5 separate regions of the Homo sapiens genome follow, and regions 2, 3, 4 and 5 are each linked to region 1. Evidence: promoter capture Hi-C in 16 types of primary human blood cells and fetal thymus (Javierre and others, 2016). All regions are on one chromosome and are shown on one strand. The core of a region is centred on a gene start or on the middle of the fragment in contact, and the rest is flanking DNA. Distances in the headings are between cores, read along the strand shown. Region 1 holds the start of AGAP3 (ArfGAP with GTPase domain, ankyrin repeat and PH domain 3). Region 2 has its middle 2.7 kb from the start of KRABD3. Region 3 holds the start of ZNF282 (zinc finger protein 282). Region 4 overlaps ZNF862 (zinc finger protein 862). Region 5 has its middle 21 kb from the start of ZNF467.

Evidence for each region. Contacts are between HindIII fragments. The CHiCAGO score rates a contact against its expected background, and 5 or more counts as called.
Region 2: a contact is called between a fragment that was not itself captured here and the fragment with the promoter of AGAP3 in region 1, in 1 of 17 cell types (non-activated CD4 T cells). The highest score is 6.1, in non-activated CD4 T cells.
Region 3: the fragment with the promoter of ZNF282 here is called in contact with the fragment with the promoter of AGAP3 in region 1 in 1 of 17 cell types (neutrophils); the score reaches 5.7 in neutrophils.
Region 4: a fragment that was not itself captured here is called in contact with the fragment with the promoter of AGAP3 in region 1 in 1 of 17 cell types (non-activated CD4 T cells); the score reaches 5.0 in non-activated CD4 T cells.
Region 5: a contact is called between a fragment that was not itself captured here and the fragment with the promoter of AGAP3 in region 1, in 1 of 17 cell types (neutrophils). The highest score is 8.7, in neutrophils.

Annotation. Positions count from the first base shown.
Region 1 is chr7:151,083,704-151,087,974 of GRCh38, forward strand. AGAP3 (ArfGAP with GTPase domain, ankyrin repeat and PH domain 3) reads left to right here and starts at 2,772. Exons shown (of 18, transcript NM_031946.7): 1 at 2,772-3,369. The coding sequence starts at 3,039. RefSeq lists silencers at 2,492-2,741, 2,792-2,881, 3,248-3,317, 3,678-3,947 and an enhancer at 4,168-4,271. The HindIII fragment of the contact is 3,352 bases long and covers 1,531-4,271 here.
Region 2 is chr7:149,710,065-149,714,508 of GRCh38, forward strand. No RefSeq gene overlaps it. Among named protein-coding and RNA genes, the nearest start is that of KRABD3, 2.7 kb to the right of the region's middle. RefSeq lists a silencer at 3,414-3,708 and an enhancer at 4,040-4,444. The HindIII fragment of the contact is 577 bases long and covers 1,345-1,921 here.
Region 3 is chr7:149,193,196-149,197,870 of GRCh38, forward strand. It overlaps ZNF282 (zinc finger protein 282), which reads left to right and starts at 2,351. Exons shown (of 8, transcript NM_003575.4): 1 at 2,351-2,559. The coding sequence starts at 2,395. RefSeq lists silencers at 2,019-2,308, 2,127-2,448, 2,569-2,928 and an enhancer at 3,369-3,418. The HindIII fragment of the contact is 5,667 bases long and covers 1-3,325 here.
Region 4 is chr7:149,850,309-149,854,504 of GRCh38, forward strand. ZNF862 (zinc finger protein 862) reads left to right here. Exons shown (of 8, transcript NM_001099220.3): 5 at 1-30. Among named protein-coding and RNA genes, the nearest start is that of ZNF862, 14 kb to the left of the region's middle. The HindIII fragment of the contact is 7,594 bases long and covers 1-4,196 here.
Region 5 is chr7:149,749,856-149,754,587 of GRCh38, forward strand. No RefSeq gene overlaps it. Among named protein-coding and RNA genes, the nearest start is that of ZNF467, 21 kb to the right of the region's middle. The HindIII fragment of the contact is 1,777 bases long and covers 1,385-3,161 here.

The DNA of each region.
Region 1 (4,271 bases), core at 1,522-4,021:
AGCGTCCGCCCCCTCCCCTGCCAACAGCCAGGGCATCTATCACACCAGACACCGACGTCAGCTGGAGCACGTCAGAGTACCCGTGTTCGTGATGCAGTGTGGAAGGCTCTGAGGAACTCAGGTGGCCCCTACTGTTATGTCAGAGTGGACGCCAGAAGGCACTTTGGCCACCAAAATTAATTCTTCAGCCCAGAGCCCAATATCCATGGGCTGCCCCACCAGGCTGGCTAGGGATACCCATCCTCAGGGCTGCCCCTTTCCTTGGTCCCCTCCTCCACCTTCGGGACTCCACAGCCCCTTCAGGGCTGTGGAAGAAGCATAGACCTTGGAACCTGGCAGAAATCCTGATCCCTTATCTTGTGCTTCTCAGCTATATGACCTTGGGTGGGTTATTGAATCTCTCTGAACATTAATTTCTTCCTCTCTAAAACACACCTCGTAAGTCAATCATAAGGAAGAAATTAGATGTTTTATTAAAAAGTGTAAAAACTAAGGTACATGTCACACAGTAGCTATTCGCTCACCTCCACCCAAACCTGGTCTCAGGAGTCGGGTCTTTGGTGTGTTACTGTGTGGATGGCATTGAATCCCAGGCCTGTGGATATCTGGATTTTTCCCTCTGGGCTCCTGTAGCCACAGAGATCTCACATCCTGGTTTTTACAGGCCAGTCTTGATTTAAAATAATCTATCCTAGTCTTCCCATGGTTCTTGCCTACTGTGGGAGCAAGTGGCCCAAATATTGCCTTAGGAATGTCAGTCTAGATTGATACCATACAGAACTAACCTACCTCTAGTTCCATCCCTCCTGTTCATTCATTTATTCTACTAACATATTTTTTAAAAGATGTACTATGGCCAGGCGCAGTGGCTCACGCCTGTAATCCTGGCACTTTGGGAGCCAAGGCAGGCGGATCACTGAGTTCGAGACCAGCCTGGCCAACATGGTAAAACCCTGTCTCTACAAAAAAAAATACAAAAATTAGCTGGGCGTGGTGGCGGGCGCCTGTAATCCCAGCTACTCGGGAGGCTGAGGCAGGAGAATCATTTGAATGCGGGAGGTGGAGGTTGCAGTGAGCTGAGATCGAGTCACTGCACTCCAGCCTGGGTGACAGAGTGAGACTCCGTCTCAAAAAAAATTACACACACACACACACACACACACACACACACACACACACACACTATATCCCAGGCATTGTGCAAGATACTGGGAATAAAATGGTGAATCAGACCCTCTTCCTGCCCTCATGTGGCTCCATATACTAGTAGAAGAGCTAGACGTGTGAACAGCCCAACAGTGCTATAACACGTGTGTGCTAGTTGCTGGGGCAACACATTTGAGGAGCTCTTTGCTCTTAGTGTCTCTCTTGGGAGGTATACCTGGTGCTACTTCCTGCTGTCAATTCTAATTAAGCACCTAAAAGAGATGTTGGATGTTACTTTTAGAATTATACAACATCAGAACTAGGTTTTATGTTCAACCACTATATTTCGCAGATGAAACCCAGAGAGGGCACAAGATATCCTTAAGCTTATGCAGGGAGATAGAAACACAGGTTCCTCAGGAGCTTAGGAGACCCTGTGTGTTGATTAGCTTGCACCAGGTGCTTTGGAAGGTACAAGGAACTCGGGAATAGTGACTGGGTTGGTTCTGGGGCTGAGTTGTGTGGGTAATCAAACAGTGGACAGCTTCATGCTGGGAAAAGATCCAGCTTGGCCAGGGAAGTGGAAGTGTGCGTAAGAAGGACGATGTGTGTCACTGATGCCCTAGGATATCTGGGGGTAGCAGATACCCTGCAACATCTCTGGCAGATTTATTGGCTGCGGCCTCTGCAAATGTCACCTCTTGTAGGTTTTAGGAAACGTGTGTGTGTTGGTGGGGGGGAGGGGGCTAACAGAACTGCAGCCCACTTTGGCAATGGGACTGCAGAGGAACTGGGACATTTCAGGGAGCTCCCTGGCCCTAGAGGGAGTGAAAGGACAGGATGGACAAGGGGTGAGGACAAGAAAAATTGAGAGCCACGTGGGCTTTGGTTGGTCTCTCCAATGGGATGAGTAGGGGAGAAAGGCATATACTATTTCATCCCTCCCTCTTCTTCCTCTATGTACCAATGGGGTCGGGTAGCATTTAGCTAATCTCCCAAGTCCGGCAGGGGGAGGGTCTTTTAGGAGAGCACTGCTGCAGCCGGCAGTGGAGAGCCTGGGCAGGGAGACAGGGAGAAAACTCCGGCAGCAGGGTGGTCTCTAGGGCTGACCTCGGAGCCTGGGGACAGGGGAGCCTATGCCGCACTGAAGGCGGGACGCTGTAAGCGAGGAGCAGCTGGGCCTGGGCGGACTCCTCGGCCAATCAGCCTCGGTCAGCAGCACCCTCAGGCGCAGGGCACTGTTTGGGCATTGCCTAGAGATCCGACACCCCGCCCAGATCAGCGCAGGGAGGCGAAAGCGACAGCCGGGCGCGGGAGGAGACCAGGGCAGCTGTCCCCTCCGCGAGGGTGGCCCTCGAGGCAATGCGGGTGGGGGCTGGTGAGGAGGCGGAAGGGCCGAGGCTGAGTGGGAGGGGCCGGGGCGCCAGGGCTGGAGCGCGCGGCTCGGGGGTGGAGGCTGCAGAGCCAGCGAGCGAGCGAGGGGCGGGGGCGCCCGGGCCGGCGCGCAGGAGGGGCGGGGGCGGCGGGGAGGGGGGCTCGGGCTGCGTGTGCCGGAGCCGGCGGGGGCGGCGGTGCGTGCGCATGACGCGGGGGGAGGGCCTGGGCCGCGCGCTCCCGGTCCCGTTGTTGTTGCCGCTGGAGGCTGCTCCGAGGCAGCGGGATCACGGCGCTGGGAAGCGCTCGGCAGCGGCGGCCACAGCGTGCGCGGCGGCGCCTCCTGGCCTCGGCCTCCGGCCCCCGGCCCCCGGCTCCATGCGCTAGCCCCGCGCCGCCAGCCCAGTAGTCCCGGCCCCGCCAGCCCCGCGCTCCCGCTCGCCGCTGCCGCCGCCGCCGCCGCCGCCGCCTCCGCCGCGCCGCCCCGGGCCCGCCTCGGGCCCCACGGCTCCGAAGCCATGAACTTCCAGGCGGGCGGGGGGCAGAGCCCGCAGCAGCAGCAGAGCCTGGCGGCTCCGGGGGGCGGCGGCGCTGCCGCGCAGCAGCTCGTCTGCGGCGGGCAGTTCGGCGGCGCGGGGCCCGGGGCCGGGGGCGGCGGCGGCCCCTCGCAGCAGCTGGCCGGCGGGCCCCCCCAGCAGTTCGCGCTCTCCAACTCCGCGGCCATCCGGGCCGAGATCCAGCGCTTCGAGTCCGTGCATCCCAATATCTACGCCATCTACGACCTGATCGAGCGCATCGAGGATTTGGCGCTGCAGAACCAGATCCGGGAGCACGTCATCTCCATCGAGGGTGAGCGGAGCCGGGGGCTGCGGGAGCCGGGGCGCAGTGGCCTCTCCGGCGCCGGCCGAGGGCTCCACAGGCCGTGCCTGGCCATGCTCTCCCTGTCGGGGGTCCTTGCGCGCTTGAGGACCAGGCCACGAGGTTTGCCGATCTGTGTTGCAGAACCGGCGGGCAGCTTCGCCATATCTCGTTCGGGGACACTTTGGGGTTGGGGGTTTTCTGCTGACTGTGTTCCAGGGCGCGAAGGTGGTGTCGCTTGGGGGGGCCGGGACCAGATCTGTCCAGGCCTGGCCGGGGAAGGTGGGCGCGGCAGAGGGCTTCAGCTGCGGGGAGGTGGGGTCGTGACCGGGGAGGCTTCTTAGCCGCTGCCCGGGCCCTGCTCCGCAGTGGGGCGGGGGATCGGAGCCTCGCGTTAGTGGATGGCAGCCTTCCCGGGCCCAGCGCCCGCAGGCCCGGAGGGTGGCGCTCGCCGCGGCGCCCTCTCCCGACGCACACCCCCTACGCCGCGGCGGCCAAGCGGGAGCGGGCCGGGCCTGGCGCTGGGCTGAGGCTCAGCGACCGCGTGGGAGGCGCCGGCAGGTCCATCCGCGCTTTGGCCGGGTCATGAGCCTGACGGGGATCCGCGGCTCCTCGGTCTGGAGGCAGCTGCTGGGCAGCCGGGTGCTGACCGACCGCCAGGGACACCGCACCCGGAGTCGGGGACCGGAAACCCCCGGCCACTGCGCTGCCTAGCGCTTTTTTCTCTGGGCCCTTAGGCCCTGGACTTTCGACCGCTGAGGGCACAGGAAGTGGTGGCACGCTGCTGGCAGATGCCTCGCAAGCCCTGGTGTGGTGGGTGCTGGAGGCACCCGCAGGCACCCCGGTGGCATGGTGACCTTCGAGCGGGCACGGACAGATGGGCCTCACCCTGG
Region 2 (4,444 bases), core at 383-2,882, 1.4 Mb before region 1:
GTTTCACCATATTAGCCAGGCTGGTCTCAAACTCCTGACCTCAGATGATCTGCCCACTGTGGCCTCCCAAAGTGCTGGGATTACAGGCGGGAGACACCACACCTGGCCTAAATTTTTTTTTTTTTTAGACGGAGTCTCTGTTGCCCAGGCTGTCGTGCAGTGACACGATCTCAGCTCACTGCAAGCTCCGCCTCCTGGGTTCATGCCATTCTCCTGCCTCAGCCTCCTGAGTAGCTGGGACTACAGGCACCCACCACCACACCCAGCTAATTTTTAAAATTTTGTATTTTTAGTAGAGACGGGGTTTCACCATGTTGGCCAGGCTGGTCTCGAACTCCTCACCTCGTGATCCACTTGCCTCGGCCTCCCAAAGTGCTGGGATTCCAGGTATGAGCCACCATGCCCAGCTTGGGAAGAGGCAATATTAAAAGATATAATAGCTGAGAATTTTCCAGACTTGTACAAAGATGTGACACCTCAGATTTAGGACTCACGAGTTCCAAGAAAGATAAATAAAAGATCCATACCTAGCCACATTGCAGTGAAACTTCATGATACCACAGATAAAGAGATTTTTTTTTTTTTTTAGATGGAGTTTTGCTCTTGTTGCCCAGGCTAGAGTGCAATGGTACGATCTCTGCTCACTGCAACCTCTGCCTCCTGGATTCAAGTGATTCTCCTGCCTTAGCCTCCGAGTAGCTGGTATTACAAGCATGCACCACCATGCCTGGCTAATTTTTTTTGTATTTTTAGTAGAGTCGGGGTTTCTCCAGGTTGGTCAGGCTGGTCTCAAACTCCTGACCTCAGGTGATCCTCCCGCTTCAGCCTCCCAAAATGCTGGGATTACAGGTGTGAGCCACCATGCCCGGCCAAACAGATGATTTTAAATGAAGCCAGAGAAGTTAAATCATATGCAAAGGAATAATTAGACTGACAGCAGACTTTTCAATAGCAACAATGAAAGTCAGGAGACAATGGAATAAAATATTAGAAGTGTGAAACAGTTCTCTCCCTGGCTAAAGTATCATTCAGGAGTGAGAAAAATGTAAGACATTTTATATAACTGAAAGTATCCACTTCTAAAATATCCTTGCTGAAATAAATTTTAAAAGTTCTGCTTCAGGAAGAACATTGAACCCAGAAGGAAGAAGAAAGAGGCAAGAAAAAAGAGTGAACAAAGATAGTGGTAAGCACATTGGTAAATCTAAACAGCATAGATTGTATAAAACAAAAACAATGACTTCAAATATCAGGAGAGAGTCTTAAAAACAAGATGTAACTAAAAAGAACAATAATTACACACAAGACAGAAGGGGAAGAGTGTGATTAAACTCATATTCAAAAAGCTTTCTATCATTTGCGAGAAGATCAGAAGTAGTAATATTAGATTCTATTAAACCAAATATGTGTGTAAAATTACAGAGTAACCCCCAAATGAATAAAAAAGGAAAGCATAACTTTCAAATCAGTAGATTCATGATTATGATAGAGATTGTCAGACTGGATTCAGCAGCAACAACAAAATCTAGCTACATGCTCTTATATGACACACATCTGAAACATAAATATACACAAAGTTTGAAAGTAAAAGGACAGGAAAAGATATATCAAAGAAATACTTGCCAAAATAAAGTTAGTGTAGCTGCAGCAATATCAAACAAAATGGATTATAGACAAAGACTATTATTAGGGATAGTGTTACTTTCTAATAATAGAATGAACAATTCTCCAGGAAAATACTACAATTCTAAATTTGTAAGCACACAGCCTCCAAACACATGAAGCGAAAATTCTCACAAATTCAGGGAGAAATTGACAAATGCACAAACTTGATATGAGATTTTAACACCTCTTTAGTAACTGATAGTTCCAAATGCAAAAAGATGATAAACTATAGAAGGCATAAACCACATGATTGATAAGCTTGATTTTACAGCTCTAACTAGATCCTACACCAATATTAGAATATATGTACTCTTTTAGGCAAACATGGAACATTTTCAAACATCTATTGCACACTTGGCCACAAAGCAGTCTCAGAAAATTCTAAAAAATCAACATCACTTACTACATTCTCTGACTATAAGGCAAAACTCAAAAACAAAATAACTCATAAAAAGATTCGTATTTGGAAATTAAAAAGTACTTTTAAATAATCTCATGGATGGAAAAAGAAATAATAATGAAAATCAGAAAATATTTTAAAGTTGCAGCCATTTTCACATGGAGGACTGGCCAGCACAATTTGCCTTTAGATTCATTTGGGAAAAGTGCCGACTAGTTCACCAAAAGTCAATTCACAGAATGACCAGATAGCCAAAAGCCAAATATGGTAAAAGCTAAACCACTGAATATCAACTTGCTAAACAACCAATCTGAATTATTGAAATTTTTTTTTTTTTTTTTTGAGACAGGGTCTTGCTCTGTCACCCAGGCTGGAGTGCTGTGGTGTGATCTTGGCTCACTGCAACCCCCCTCTGCCTCCTGGGCTCAAGAGATTCTCCCACCTCAGCCTTCCAAGCAGCTGGGACTACAGGGGTACACCACTGCACCTGGCTAATTTTTGCATTTTTTGTAGAGATGGGGTTTCATCATGTTGCCTAGGCTGGTTTGGAACTCCCAGGCCCAAGCAATTCACCAGCCTTGGCCTCCCAAAGTGCTGGGATTACAGGTGTGAGCCACCGTGCCTGGCCCCAGCCAAGGAATTTTTAAAGATGTGTTTCAGCTCCACTCCTGCCTTTGTCTGTGTCCAGAGCCATCCAATAAACCTGGTTCAGGACAGGTCTTCACAACTATTTTTTAACGCACACACACGGGCTGAGGTAAATACAGGTCTACAGGGTCAAAGGCGCAACTAAAATTTGGGGGATAGGGGTGCCAGGAAGTGTCTCCATAATTTAAATAATTGGCCATGCAGCAAATTTCATGTTGGTGAACTGCTTTTAGCGACTGATGGTCCACAAATGGGGCAGGAAGCCTAGCCAGGAAGTGGACGTTTGAGTCAAAGAGGTGCCAAGAATCTGCACAGCTTAAAACAAAGGTGCATCTTACTTGGATAGAGATTTCTTTCTACAGGTGTTTAAGTTTAAGGCAGGGGTCCCCAGTCCCTGGGCTATGGACCAGTACCAGTCCTGGCCTGTTAGGAGCTGGGCAGTGCAGCAGGAGGTGAGCTGCGGGCAAGCCAGGGAAAGCTTTATCTGTAGTTACAGCCACTCCCCCTTGCTCGCATTACCCCTGAGCTCTGCCTCCTGTCAGATCTGCAGGTGCTGGATTCTCATAGGAGCCAGAACCCTGTTGTGAATGCGGGATCCAGGTTGCGGGCTCCTTAGGAGAATCTAATGCCTGGTGATCTGAGTTGGAACAGTTTCATCCCAAAACAACCCCCCTCCCAGTCCATGCAAAAATTCCCTTCCACAAAACCGGGCTCTGGCCCAAAAGGTTGGGGACCCCTGATTTAGGGGGTTTTAACGTTTAGGGATCCCGGGCCGGAGGGTGGGCGGTGGAGAGGAGCTGGGAGCAGGAACACATTACTGTAAGGAGCCCGCCTCACCTCGGCACGGAGGTGGGACCCGGCCTAAAGCCCAGGAGGCGACTTACCCTGAGGGCTGTGGCCTGTAGGGCTCTTGAAAAGTTGGACTTTTAAGTTTTCCCTTTCCGCGAGGTGGGGCCTTGTGATATCTTCAAATCCTTGTTCAGCAGGCTGCGCACACGCCGGTCCTGTGTCTAAGGTGTCTCGGGTATGACCGAGGGGGCTTTGCCCGAGTGGGCGTGCGCCTTTCCTCGGAGGCCGGGACGAGGGGTTGTCGGCATCGTACCCGAGTCCGTGATCATGGCCGGCGCGGCTGCAAGGGCCAGCCCCGGGCGACTGGGCGAGGAATTCCCTTTCCTTCCCTCCGATATTGCCCAGGCAGAGCGCTGTCTGGGCCGCAAGGTCTGGACGGGGCTTCCAAACTCAGAGCAGAGTCTCCTCTGCGTGGGACCACAGCCTCCCCTTCCCCTCCAAGCTTCTGTCTGGCACAGCAGGCTTAGCCCCGCAGGCCCCCTTCCAGCAGCCTTCTATAAAAATGACGGGGTCCTTCTCCAGACAGGAAAACCAGGCTCGCTGCGCCTCGCCCGCACCCCCGGAGCGCTCTCGCAGCGCCCGCCCAGACCAGGCCTTCGAACTCGTGAAGCGCAGGGGGAGGCAGAGGAGAGTGGGCCGCGCTTCCTTCCCGCATCACACGTTTATTTGAGGCCTACTATGTGCCAGGAACAACTGGGGTTACCACCCCAGCAAACAGGCACGCAAAATGTGACACGAAGGTAGGTCATGGCTGCGGCGAGCGGGGGCGCGGGCGAAAGACGTGAGGATGTACGGGGGCCTGGCAGCTGCTCTGTCCCACCCACGCCCGGCCGGACCCTCGACCCCTTTCACTCCAGGTCGGGTTTCCCCGACCGCGGCCTC
Region 3 (4,675 bases), core at 1,101-3,600, 1.9 Mb before region 1:
GGAGCATGGACTTTACTGGCCTATAAGCTCCTTGAGGATAATCTTAAGTCTGTGAATACTCATTTCTGTATCCTAGAAGTGTGCCTAGCAGAGAAAGTACTTGGTAACTGTTCTTCTGAATATGGCCTTCTAAGCACATGTCTCACGTAGGCCAATAATGTCCTTTATTTTATGAAGTGCAGTGGAACTTAAAGGTACTAGCAGGTCTGCTTCCACACAAGGTGATGAGCCTCAGAGATCTCTTCCTTAACAAGACAGGGACTGGTCCTTTAGGAAAACAAAGTAAATACTATTTTGAGAATAATTACAAAAACACCTTTTGGGGGTAACTATCTTTGCAGAATGCTCGCTATGTGCCAGGCACAATTCTCATTTAATTTTACAACATTAAAATAGAGTTGCCATTATTTTCTTCATTTATATATGAAGAGAATGAGGCTCAGAGAAGTTAAATAAGTTGCTCAAAGTCATAGCTAGTGAGTGGTGATTTTGGGATTTAAACTCAGGTGTATGCAACTGCAAAGCTCACCCTCTTCCTAAACAGTACCTGGCACACAGTAGGTGTTCAATAAATACATTTGGAATGACTGAATTTTCCCCTCCTCCATCTTCATCAGCTTATACTGGCCTCTCCCTGGCTCCTCCTCTGACCTGGCCTGATGTTTCAAAGTGACACTGACCTGCCTTTAAAGGGTTTTATTTGTAGAGAAGGGATCTCGCTGTGTCACCCAGGCTGGTCTTGAACTCCTGGCCTCAGCCTTGGCCTCCAAAGTGTTGGGATTACAGGTGTGAGCCACCATGACTGCCCGATTTAAAGGTTTATTTATTTATTTATTTGACACAGGATCTTTGCTATGCCGCCCAAGCTGGAGCACAACGGCACAATCACAGCTCACTGCAACCTCCAACTCCTGAGTTCAAGCAATCCTACAGCCTTAGCCTCCTGAGTAACTAGGAGTACAGGCATTAGCCATCATGCCCGGGTAATTTTTATTTTTTATTTTATTATTATTATTATTATTTTTTTTTGAGACGGAGTCTTGCTCTGTTGCCCAGGCTAGAGTGCAGTGGCGCGATCTCGGCTCACTGCAAGCTCCGCCTCCCGGGTTCACGCCATTCTCCTGCCTCAGCCTCCCGAGTAGCTGGGACTACAGGCGCCGCCACCACACCCGGCTAATTTTTTTGTATTTTTAGTAGAGACGGGGTTTCACCGTGTTAGCCAGGATGGTCTCGATCTCCTGACCTCGTGATCCGCCCGTCTTGGCCTCCCAAAGTGCTGGGATTACAGGCGTGAGCCACGGCGCCCGGCCTTATTATTATTTTTTGAGATGGAGTCTCGCTCTGTTGCCCAGGCTGGAGCGCACTGGCGCGATCTTGGCTCACTGCAACCTCCGCTTCGGAGGTTGAAGCGATTCTCCTGCCTCAGCCTCCCGAGTAGCTAGGATTATAGGCCCACGCCACCACGCCCGGCTAATCTTTTTGTATTTTTAGTAGAGACGGGGTTTCACCATGTTGGCCAGGCTGGTCTCGAACTCCTGACCTCAGGTGATCCGCCTGCCTCAGCCTCCCAATGTGCTGGGATTACAGATGTGAGCCACCGCGCTCGGCTAATTTTTATTTTTTATAGGGATGGGGTGTCAATATGTTGCTCAGTCTGGTCTCGAACTCCTGGGCTCAAGTCGTTCTCCTGCTTCAGCCTCTCAGAGTGCTGAGATTACAGGTGTGAGGCACCACGCCCAACCCAATTTCAAGGTGTTTGAAGAGGCCACTGTTAAAATGCACTGCACCTTACCTGGGAGAAAGAGCTCAGCCCTCTTTTGACACCTTAACATGAATCACTTCTCTATCATCCATAACAGTGCAAAAGCTCTGGGATGGGTCCAGGTAAATCTGGATTGGGAAGAAGGGGAGTGGGAGGTAAAGTCTGCAAAGGAGTGAGGGAAGGCAGAAGGCCAGAAGAAAGTGTCTGAAGACAGAATTACTCCTGCAAAATTTTCACAAGGGTCAGGCACTATTTTCTCCCGGGATGCCCAATACATTTGCAGAATTAACAGTAATCAAGCCCACAGTCCAGGTCCTCGCATAGTTTGGGCCTTTAAAGTCGGCCATCCCAGATTGAGGGGGCCTGACCCCTGGGCGAGGCCGCCGCCTCTCAGTTTTGGGGCGGTGGCGACCCCAGTCCGGGAGTGGCCCCGGTAGGTCCCCGCAGGCGGGCAGGAGCTCCGAGGCCATTGGCTGGCGCGCGGGCTGCCAAGGGGCGGGGAGCGCCGCCGAAGGGGACTGTTTGCTCCTACGGGCTGTAGATGGAGCTGTCCGGCCCCGGAGAGGGGGAAGGCGCCTGGAAAACGTTCTTCTTCTCCCTGGCCGACCCGAGCGGGGAACAGCACTCCCAGGATGCAGTTTGTGTCAACACGGCCGCAGCCTCAGCAGCTGGGCATCCAGGGCCTGGGGCTGGACAGCGGGAGCTGGAGCTGGGCCCAGGCTCTGCCCCCGGAGGAGGTCTGCCACCAGGAGCCGGCGCTGCGCGGGGAAATGGCCGAGGGAATGCCGCCCATGCAGGTGGGAGAACCCCGCCGGCGCCATGGCCGCGCTGCCGTGGGGGCGGGGCGCGGGCTGGGCCGCGGGACCGGGCCGCGCCGTCCTCCGGTAGCCTTGCGGCGCCCTCCCAGCTTCCGCGCCCAGGCGAGGCCCGAGGCGGGCGGGGCACGGCCGGGCTGCGCGGCGGGCAGGACGGAGCGGGCCCGACGCAGGCCCGGAAGGGCAGGCCTGGCCCGCGCGGCGCGGAGCAGCGGTCGCCGGGCCCAAGTGCGGAGGCCCCGCGGGGCGGGGGCCGGGACCGTCCTTTCCGGGACCTGGCAGAGCTCTGACCCTGTGGCTGAGCCCCGGCTTGGGGCTCCCTTTGCGCCCGGCCGGCGGAGAGCTTCGCGGGCAGTGCTTCCGCCCGGCCGCAGAAGTGAATGCCTCGTTCGTGTTTACACGGTGGCCAATTTGACGGGGATATTTTTTAAATGTTTGATTACCACCTTTCACCAAGTGTAATGAGTAATTCACTCTCCCCCTGCACCGGGTGTGATCCAGGGAGGGGGCCATGGAGAGATGACTTCGGGGTCTTTCCTGCGGTTGACAAACTTGGCCGCATGTTGGAATGGCCTGGGCAGCTTTTAAGACTCCTGAGCCCTTGCCTGGTCCCAGAGCTCAGGGTCTCTGACGGGTGAGAGTAGCACCAGGCATTTCTTCAGGCTCCATCGATGATCTCCGTGGGCAGAACCGGTGCTCCAGAATTGGGTATAAAACCAGGGGAGGTGGATCCTCAGAGAGGCCTGAAAGCTTGCCCAGGGAAGACTCTCTGGGCCCACCCTGGGGCTGGGCTGCTCAGGGGCCCCTCTGCTCACCACGCGGCTCTCAGCCAGGTGCTAACGAGGGAGCCAGGGGCTGCTGTGTTGTGTTTGATCATTTTCAGGGTTAGGGCTTCAAACCCGAGAAAACTAAACTGGGCCCCGGGACTTTCTTAACTTCTACTGTGGACTCTGTCCCCTTCTGTGGGCTAGGGCGGAGTGGAGCCTCTGTGATGGAGGAATGGGTGCTTTTGATGGAAACACCAGCACCTCTTACTGGTATTACAGGGCCTGGCGATCCTAGGGCCCTGCTCTCCACTCTGCTGTGTCCCGGAGCAGGTCTGCCCCGGAGCAGGGCTGCTCTTGAGTCAGAGAGTGGGGCTGGTCTGCCCAGATCGCCCCAAGCAGCAGGCCTCCCCTTTTCCTAGCCTGAGGGCCTTTTCTGCAGCCATCGGGAGGACAGAAAATGACACCTCTTCCTGTCCCAGGTGTGAAGGAGAGTCGGCTGCCAGCCCATGTGGTCCAGTGAGCCCTGAGTCTGACACCAGGTCCCAGATGACCAGTGAACTGTCACCAGCCTCAACCAGCCCCCCTTAGCCATAGGTCTCAGCTCTCAATTGCACCAATTAGTTTACCCTTCTGGGGTGAGGGCTCTGTGCTGGAAGATAAAAGGGGGAGTCCCCAGGCCATGGGGCACCCCTTCCCCAGGAAGCAAGGAGGGGTCCCAGAGGAGTTTTTCTTTCTCTTGGTCCTCTTGGGTGTGAGGGACATCCCCTCTTCACCTCTAATGAGTGACCTTTTTTAGTGAACCTATTTTCAATTTGGAAAATGTTTATGAAACAGTAGTTGTATATGGGGGGAAGCTGCTTTTCTGCCCTAGCTTGGGCTCTCCGGTCTTTTCCTTGACTGCAGCCCTGGTAGGAATGTGGTGGGTTTTTTTGTTGTTTATTTGTTTGTTCCGAGACGGAGTCTTGCTCTGTTGCCCAGGCTGGAGTGCAGTGGCACCATCTCGGCTCACTGCAACCTCCGCTTCCCAGGTTCAAGCGATTCTCCTGCCTCAGCCTCCCAAGTAGCTGGGATTACAGGAGCCCACCACCACACCCGGCTAATTTTTGTGTTTTTAGTAGAGACAGGGTTTCGCCATGTTGGCCAGGCTGGTCTTGAACTCCTGACCTCAAGTGAGCTGCCTGCCTTGGCCTCCCAAAGTGCTGGGAAGGTGTGAGCCACTGCACCTGGCCAGGAATGTGTTTTTTGTTACCTGCAGCATCTAGAGCTGCCCCAGCTGGCAGTGCAGGGAGGCGCTGCGGAGTGACCAGCTGCCTCCCTGTGCTTCAGTTTCA
Region 4 (4,196 bases), core at 1,697-4,196, 1.2 Mb before region 1:
GGATGAACTACGAGCTGTTGGCATCCTTGGGTAAAGACGCACCGAGCCTCTTATTCACCACCCTCCTTTGACTTGGGAAGCCCACAAGGGGAGCTGTGGCTTGTGGTTATCTTCCCATTCCTGCCCCCTCCCTGTGTGTAGGCAGAGACCGATCCTGTCTTTTGCACCTCATAACTCCCCTGCTTGGGGTAACTGTGCTTTATCACCTTCTCATCCACCCACCTGTTCATCCATTCGTCCCCCACCAAACATTTTGGAGTACCTACTATGTGCCAGATGAACACAGCTGATCCATGGTCTCTGCTTTCAAGGGCCTAGCACGTTTGTGGGAGAGACAGACATTTTAATAAGAAACTATAAAATAATACAGTCTCCCATAAAAGAGCTTCCAGAAGAGTACCCGGGGCTACTGAAGAAGAGGGATTTGATTTCCTGGGCATTGGTGGGAGGAATCAGGAAGCCTTTATAGAGTAGGAAATGTTTTAATTGAGTTCAAAACCAGGTGGATCAGAAGGAGGAAGGGCATTGAGCCATGATGGAGGGGACGGCCTGGCAGAGCCACCCCTATCTGTGCAGCCCAGGGCTAAGGCTCCTGCATCCTGGCCAGGCGCCGGCAAGGGTTGGCAGCCTTCAGCACGGGAGTCATGGGGTTTGGACCTTGGCAGATTAGGAAGAGGGCAGTGCTTCTTGCTCCTCAGGATGGTGCTCTCCTCTCCTGCATCTGCTGTTTTATCTTCTCTTTGCCTCTTTCTGGCAGATTAGCAAGGTTCTTATGAAGCATCAAGATGGAAAGACAACTTTTTTTGTTGGAGACAGTCTCACTCTGTCGCCCAAGCTGGAGTGCAGTGGCGTGATCTTGGTTCACTGCAACCTCTGCCTCCCAGGCTAATTTTTGTTTTTTGAGTAGAGACGGGGTTTCACCATGTTGGCCAGGCTGGTGTCGAACTCCTGACCTCAGGTGATCCACCTGCCTTGGCCTCTCAAAGTGCTAGGATTACAGGTATGAGCCAGCACACCTGGCCAACATGTTTTTGTCATTGTTCGTAATTTTTAAATGGCTTCCCAAACATTCAGAAGTGACTAAAATTATTTATTTTGTGGTGACAGAGGTTTTGTTGTCATGCCCTAGGTTAGGTGTATCCCCTCAGAGTATCACTGCCCGTGCTGTGCTGAAGAGCAGTGAGAGTGAGGGCGAAATTCACACCTGTCTTAAAAATGCATACCCTCTGCAAAAAGTTGGGTTTTCCTTTAATGTAATCGGCACTAGCGACTCAGTTTCACTGTGAGGCCCCCGGGCGATTGTGAAGGTACCAGGCGATGGTGTTGCTGGCCCAGGGCAGCTTCTGCAGCAGTGCAGGGAGGGCTGGCCAGGATTGTTTAGCCTGTGCCTGTTTCCTCACGTTTTGTGTGTTGACAGAGCATGATCTAAACATTTTATCAGTTTCTTTTTCATTTACGTAAATTAGGCAGTAGGGAAATCTCAGCTAACTAAGGTCTTTAAATTTTATTTGGATGAACAAAAAATGTAATCAGAGGGAAGGGAACTCATTTTCCTCGAGGGTCAGAGGCAGGAATCAGAAAGGCTTTCTAGGGGGTGGGCCTGGCCTCTCCGGTTGTCTGTGAAATTGAGACAGGTATGGGAGTCTAGAAACGGAGTTGCATGTGTGTGATTCCTTTCAGTTACTTTAATTGGATCTCTGGTTATCCTTGAACTATCCCCGAATTTAAACAGTTCTTCATGTTTGAGATATAGAAGCATCTTAAGGAGCCTGGGGACTATGGGCAGGGCCTGGCATAAGCTATTTGTATGTTTAAAAGTGGTATATAATAGTATTAAATTGGGATATAAAGTAGTGTTAAAACATAGTGGAGATTCTTTAATTGTTATTATTATTTTTACTTTGGCTTGTTTTTTTTTTTATTTCCCACACTTTACCCTCCATAACAAATGCTCTAAGAGTTGAAAACCAAATATTATTTTGCATTATCTTTTAATACACAAAACAACTTCTTGGGGTGAACTCAGTTTTGTGTGTGTGTGTGTGTGTGTGTGTGTGTGTGTGTGAGAGAGAGAGAGAGAGACAGGCTGTCACTCTGTCACCCAGGCTGGAGTGCAGTGGTGCCATCATAGCTCACTGTAACCTTGAACTCCTGGGCTCAAGCAATCCTCCTGCCTTAGCCTCCCAAGTAGCTGGGACTACAGGCGCATGCCACAACACCTGGCTAATGTTTAAATTTTTTTGTAGAGATGGAGTCTCACTTTGCTGCCCAGGCTGGTCTCAAACTGCTGGACTCAAGTGATCCTGCTGACTTAGCCCCCAAAGTGTTGGATTACGGCGTGAGCCACTGCACCTGGCTTGCCATATCTGATGAAGTCTGTTGCTTCTTCCCAAAAAGCAGCCAGAAATCTCAATTACATCCCACTGTTAAGAAACTAATATTTGTCATTAATGGAAATAGACAGGCCAACATAGGGACTATGTGGGTAGCCCTTGCTTTTATTTGTAAAGGTGTCATCGTATGCTGAGTGGCCACTCACTGCAGGCGGGCAGTTTCTTGTCCACAGGAGAAGTCGGTAACTACAGCCAGGCCTTACAGAGCTGGGGGAAGGCGTTGTGTCACTCATGGAAAACAACACTGAGTGGGAGGGCCCTAAAGAAGATGAGCAGGGGAGTTCGAGTCCCCCAGCTTCTCCACGGCAGGACATGTGATGATGGCCTCCAAGTGGGGGCAGCCGGAGCTAGAGAAAGAAGAACCAAGGTGAGGGGCTAGAGTGGCATCTATTTATTTGTTTGTTTGAGATGGGGTCTCTCTATATTGCCCAGTCAGGACTGAAACTCCCGGGCCCAGGCGATCCTCCTGCCTCCATCTCCGGAGTATCTGGGATTACAGGCACACGCACTGCACCTGGCTAGAGTGGCTTTTGCAGAATGGATTCATGGGATAGGGCCTGCTGGCCCTTGGTGAAGTTAGCCTGGAAGGATGAGGAGTCCTTTGTAGGCCAAACCATTGTTATGGACTGTTATGGAATGTGGGTGTTTGTGGGTGTGTGCACGCACTCGCCACAGTTATGTGCCCTCCTTCTTTTTCCATTACTAAGTCATAGAAAACGCTGAAAATTCCCCTCCATTTCATTTGTTTGGAAGGGAACAAAAAGAAGAGGTTTTGATAAGATGTAGGCTGCAGCTTCAGAGAGGTACCATCAGGGTACGGTATTCCTGGGGCCAGGGTAGTGGCGCCAGCGGCAGTCAAAGGTGGACAGTACCCAAAAGGAATATAAATGGAGGCAAACAGATTTGGGAACATTTGGTCCCTGTTTGTTTTCAATTATTCTTTAAAAATATTTCTGCCGGGTGCGGTGGCTCACGCCTGTAATCCCAGCACTTTGGGAGACTGAGGCAGGTGGATCACCTGAGGTCGGGAGTTCGAGACCAGCCTGGCCAACATGGCGAGACCCCATCTCTACTAAAAATACAAAAATTAGCCGAGCGTAGTGGCACACACCCTTAGTTCCAGCTACTCGGGAGGCTGAGGCAGGAGAATCGCTTGAACCTGGGAGGTGGAGGTTGCAGTGAGCCAAGATCGTGCCACTGTACTCCAGCCTGGGCGACAGAGCCAGACTCCATCTCAAAAAAAAAAAAAAAAGAAAAATGACAGTCCCCTGTCCCACCTTTCTCTTTTACAAAGTCCTGTTCCCCAGAATCTTGTAGCTGTTTCTTCCAGTAATTTGCCGCATTATTTCTAAATAACGTATGTGGACATTATCTTAGGAGGGACGGACTCCAGCAGGACGCGCTTATAAAACAATTGCATCCTCCCGTTCACCGCTGAGCGTGTCAGCTCTGGGGGCCTTTTCTTTCTCACCCTCTGGGTTAAATCTAGGCAGGGCCTGGAACTTTTTCTTATCACACTCAAATAACATGAAATCTTCCTGTTCTAATTTCAGTGAGTGCAATGCCTGGTACAAAACTCTTCAAAAGTGTCCCGATCAAAAAAAAGACAGAGAAAGGCTGGCAAACTACCTCAATTAAAGGAGACTGAAGAGGTGTGACAACTTGAGTGCATGATGCTAGGACAGATGCTGGGCTATAGAGACATTTTGGGGACAAGTGAAGAAATTTAGTATGAACTTAGATTAGATAATAGTATGATATCAGGGTTGAGTTTCCTGGTTTTGATCATTATAACTCTGGTTA
Region 5 (4,732 bases), core at 1,023-3,522, 1.3 Mb before region 1:
ATGAGACTATTCTAACTTCCAAGATATATTAGGATCCACCAAACATATGGTCCAGGAGTGGGTGTGACCAGAACTTCTCCTGCCCCTGTACACTCACTACCGTGCCATGGGTCTTGGCTGCTGTTCCCACCAAAGACGGTTTTCCCACCTCTTAAACCTTGGGGGGCTTTGTAACTTGATTTGATCAAGAGAATATGGCTGAAGTGACACTGTGTGAGTGCTGCAGCCATGGCTTCAGGAAGCCCTTACAGATTCTGCACCAGCCCCCTTGGAATACAGAGCTGGCATGTCGGAGGCCCGGGTCAGCCTCCTGGAGGAGGAGAGAGAGGCCTAGCCAATAGCTAGCACCAACCACTGGATATGAGAATAGGACCATTTTGGACCACCCAGATCCAGTTGGGCCACAAGAGCCACAAGGTAACTGTACCTGCAAGGAGGAACCCAGGTGAGACCAGCCAAAAACCACTCTGCTGAACCCAGTCCAAACTGCTAACCCACAGAACTGTAAGCAAATAAAAGGTTGTTTTAAGTGGCTCAATTTCGGAGTGATTTGTTACACACAATAAAAAAGTGATATAGCGAAGAAGGCAGATACAACAGAATGGGTTTGAATGCGACGATGAAAGAAGAAAATAAAGTTGTTTCTTGCCACTTCCCAAGTCCAGCTCATTTAATTTACAAGCAATATTTGCAAAAGGCAGATCCGGGCAGCGATGTGAGATTTTTCCCCTGGGTATTCTCAAGTGCCTAAATACCTACTTGGTTTAAAATAGATAATTCTCAGCTGGGCACAGTGGCTCAGGCCTGTAATCTGAGCACTTTGGGAGGCCAAGGCAGACAGATCACTTGAGGTCAAGAGGTTGAGACCAGCCTGACCAACATGGTAAAATCCTGTCTCTACTAAAAATACAGAAAAAAAAAATTAGCCAAGCGTGGTGGCAGGTGCCTGTAATCCCAGCTACCCAGGAGGCTGAGGCAGGAGAATCACTTGAATCCAAGAGGCAGAGGCTGCAGTGAGCCAAGATCGTGCCACTGTGCTCCAGCTTGGGCGACAGAGTGAGACTCTGTCTCAAAAAAAAAAAAAACAAAACAACATAGATAATTCTTATCTCTGGACTCTCCCCTTGTCCCACTCTGCAATGTTTCCCTTCGGACATCTCCTCACAGAGCTGTGGAAAGCTCAGAAGGCCCCTCTCTGAAGCCTGACTGCTGGTCACCAGCATTGGCCCTCAGAAGGCTGCTGCCAATCAGGGCTGAGGAGAAGCCGTGACCTTCACTGGGAATAGAAGTGGGGGCGAGGGGTGAGCAAGCTCTGCTTTCTTTCCTGAAACAGCAAAATGAGACAAGTGTGTGCACGCTGTGCTGCTGCAGCTGCGAAATGAAAAGCTTCTCATTAGCATCCTTTGCACAGGGGTAGGGGTGGGGGATAACTCAGGGACAGCTCTCAGAGTGCAGAGCTGGGGCTTCTGTTCCCAACCCAGGCCCCCGGCAGGCCCCCTAGGTGTGTCATCTGCCTCCAGCCCAGCTAGGCAAGTGTGCTTCCATCTGGGTTGGGGAGAGGGATGGGTGGAAGTCTCCTGTGGGGTAATTGTGAGTCCTGATCTGGTCCCAGAATGTGAGCCCACCTTAGTTGTGGGACCCTGGGACCTCCACCCTCCCCAGCCCGCTGAGCAGGGAGGGGCATGCAGAGCTGGGTGGAGGGGAAGCAGGTTCCTCTGGCCACACAGGCTCTTCCTGTGCCAGGGGCAGCCCAGGCACAAGATGACAAGGAGAACCGGAAACTAGCCAGCAGGGCCTGCCCTGCAAAATCATGGATTTCCTCTTTCCCTCCCTCCCACCCTTCAGGCCCCAGCAGAACCTCTCTCCTCCAGGCCTCCGTTCTGTCATGCAGGATGAGAGCAGAGGTTCTTAAACCAGCTCTGCGGACCATGTGGGCCCACAGAGGGGCTTAAAGAGGGTGTCCACATACCCTCTAAAATTACGTGCAAATCATTGTTTCTATGCACATTACTCTGAAGGGAGCTTTAAACAACTAAATGCTTGGTGGTTTGCTAAAGGTTAGGAACCGACAGCCTAGAAAATTCTCAGGCCTCTCCAACACTGACATTCCTGCTTTCCCCTTTCTGTCTGCTTTCCTGAGTGTGGTTCTCAGCTCTCTTCTTAGTTCAGGTAGCTCTCTTCTCATCTAATACATATACTTTGCAGTAACGGCCAACGAAGGTGGTATATTACAGTGAGGCTTTAAATGGGACATGCAGAGTATGTGAAACATACCAGATATCTAACTCACATAATTGCATTTGAGCAGTAAGTTTAGCTTTAACCATCTCAGCAGCCACATGAAAAAATAGATCGCTGAATTTATTAACTTTGGGATTTGTGTTTGCTGTCACCCTGTCTTAGTTCACAGCTATAACTCTGCAGGGGTGGATTTTAGGCACTCAGATTATCCGGTAGGGGAGGGATTTTGAGATGGGTAGGCCTTGTAAAGGCTCCTCTTCCACCTGTACAATTCAACATACGTGTTGTGAGTGTTCAAATGTGCCAGGTCCTGGAAATACCAAGACAAAAAAACACGACTTCCGCCCTCGAGATGTTCCCAGTGGGCCTGGAGAGATGAGGCTCCTACAAGGGTGTAACCTTTCTAAACCCCGGTTTCCTTACCTGAGAAGTGAGGACAGCAACCCCGTACCAAAGGGGGCTTAGGGGAATTAAGTAGGAGCCTCAGTCACAGGAGGCACTCACACATTTTAGGCACACGCGGACACACCCAACAACTGCAGGCGACATCTGGTAAGGTGGGAAGCAGAGGAACCATGACAGCTTAAAGGAGGAGATTGTTGTGTGCTGGGATCATTGGGGAAGGACACCCCCAGGAGGTGGCCCCCATCTGTGCTCGAAAAATAGGTAGGATTTAAAAGGGAAGTCAGGGCAGTAGGCACTTTGTGATGGGGAAGCCCAGGGAGGCCGGGGCAGGAGGCAGGAAGGACCACACGGCCCGGAGACAGGAACAAGACCGCTTGGTGTAAGGGAGGGTGTGTACCCAGGAGGTTTGGAAAATAAGTTTCAAAAGTTTGTTGGGGCCAACTGTAGAGAGCCTTGAGTTAGAACAGACATGTATTGCACACTGGCTAGGTGGGCACTCTGCTCTGTGCCAGGGAAGCTTGCCACCCCCAGAGGGACACACAGAATAATGTGGCACAATGTGTCAACCGCTAAGGCCTCTGGATATTCAGATGAGCAGAAGTTTCTAAGCTGGGGCGTAATAAGTTATAAGGAAGATCAGCCTGACAGTTGGAGGATAGATGGGGAAGCAGGAGTTGGGGAGAAGTCAGAGGGGGACCTGATAGGAGAAGGTTGCCCACTGGCCTGGGCTTGGGGGGACAGTACTGGGAGGGTCAGGGGCAGCAGGGGCAGCAGGGCAGGCATCTGCAAAGGATGAGCGTGCTATGACGCGAGCTCCATCATTCTGGAGAAAGAGGATCCTGAGGCCTTAGGAGTTCTCCTGGAAGCCCCACAGTGAAATCTCAAGAGAGAAAATCCCAGCGAGGACAGGGACACTGGGCCCACGGGAATCCTGTCTTGCTGGGCCGGAGGGGAGCCCTGGGTCTGGCTCCTGTAGAGCCTGAAATAGAATCCGATTTGCGATGCCCCTAATGATGTTATGTAATGACATTGCATAAGCCCGTTACGTAAATCAAAGTCCTGCTATTGACCAAGAATGTCCCCTGCCCCAAGGCTGACCTAATCCCACGCCTGAAGGCTCAGTCCTTTGTGGCAGTTGGATAAATCTGTTTCCTAAAGCCTCTGTGAAACCCTCCCGACCTTAAAGTCTCTGTCTTTAGGGTTCCTGGGGCCTCCTTCTCCGTTGCTGCTTCTCCACTGTGGGAGGCCTCAGTGTGACACTCACTCATCCTTCCCCAGGTGAGGGTTCCCAGGGAAGGACAGGATTCCAGTCCTTCCACCAGCGTGGAATTGTGGCCGTGCGCCCTCTTCTGGGGGTCTTGCATACTCCCTCTGACTGTGAAATACAAGACTTGTCTCTGGTTAAAAGACATTTCAAGGATCAGTAAGTGAGTGAAGAAGTTTTCTTCCCTGTGGGGCATGGGTGGCCTCCCCAGGACCCTGGAGTTAACAACTACGAGCAGGTTCTTGAGTCCCAGGAGCAGAAAGAATCTTTCACTACTGGAAACCAGCATGTCCCGTGAACGCACTCACCAACCTGTCTGCCTTCAGTCGGCCCATCTGTCTCCCTGAACATACTAGCAGAAGCCCTCCCACCCTCAACCCACCTCGCCAACCCCCACCCCGGCTCCCCTTCAAGCCCTCTCCCCAGCATAGGCAACATCTTCCTCGGGAGGCTGTCTCCTTCCTTCATCTATGTCTCTCTACAAGTAAATCCTGGTGTGCACACCACCACCCCCGACACATAAACACAGTTTACAGAAACACCAAACAAAACAGTCATGTTTGATGGAAAAAGGCTGAGTTCCCAGTTGCTCTTAGTGTCTCCTAAAAGTCAACTGTTTACTGTCCTATCAAAGCTATTTTACTGTTATAGGACTAGGAAAAATTTAAATTTAAAAATCACACGAAGAATAAAGTAACACAAAGCAAAACTGTTTATGTTTTATCTTTTTTTTTTTTTTTTTCAGACAAGTTCTTGCTCTGTCACCCGGGCTGGAGTGCAGTGATACAATCTTGGTTTACTGTAACCTCAAACTCCTGGGCT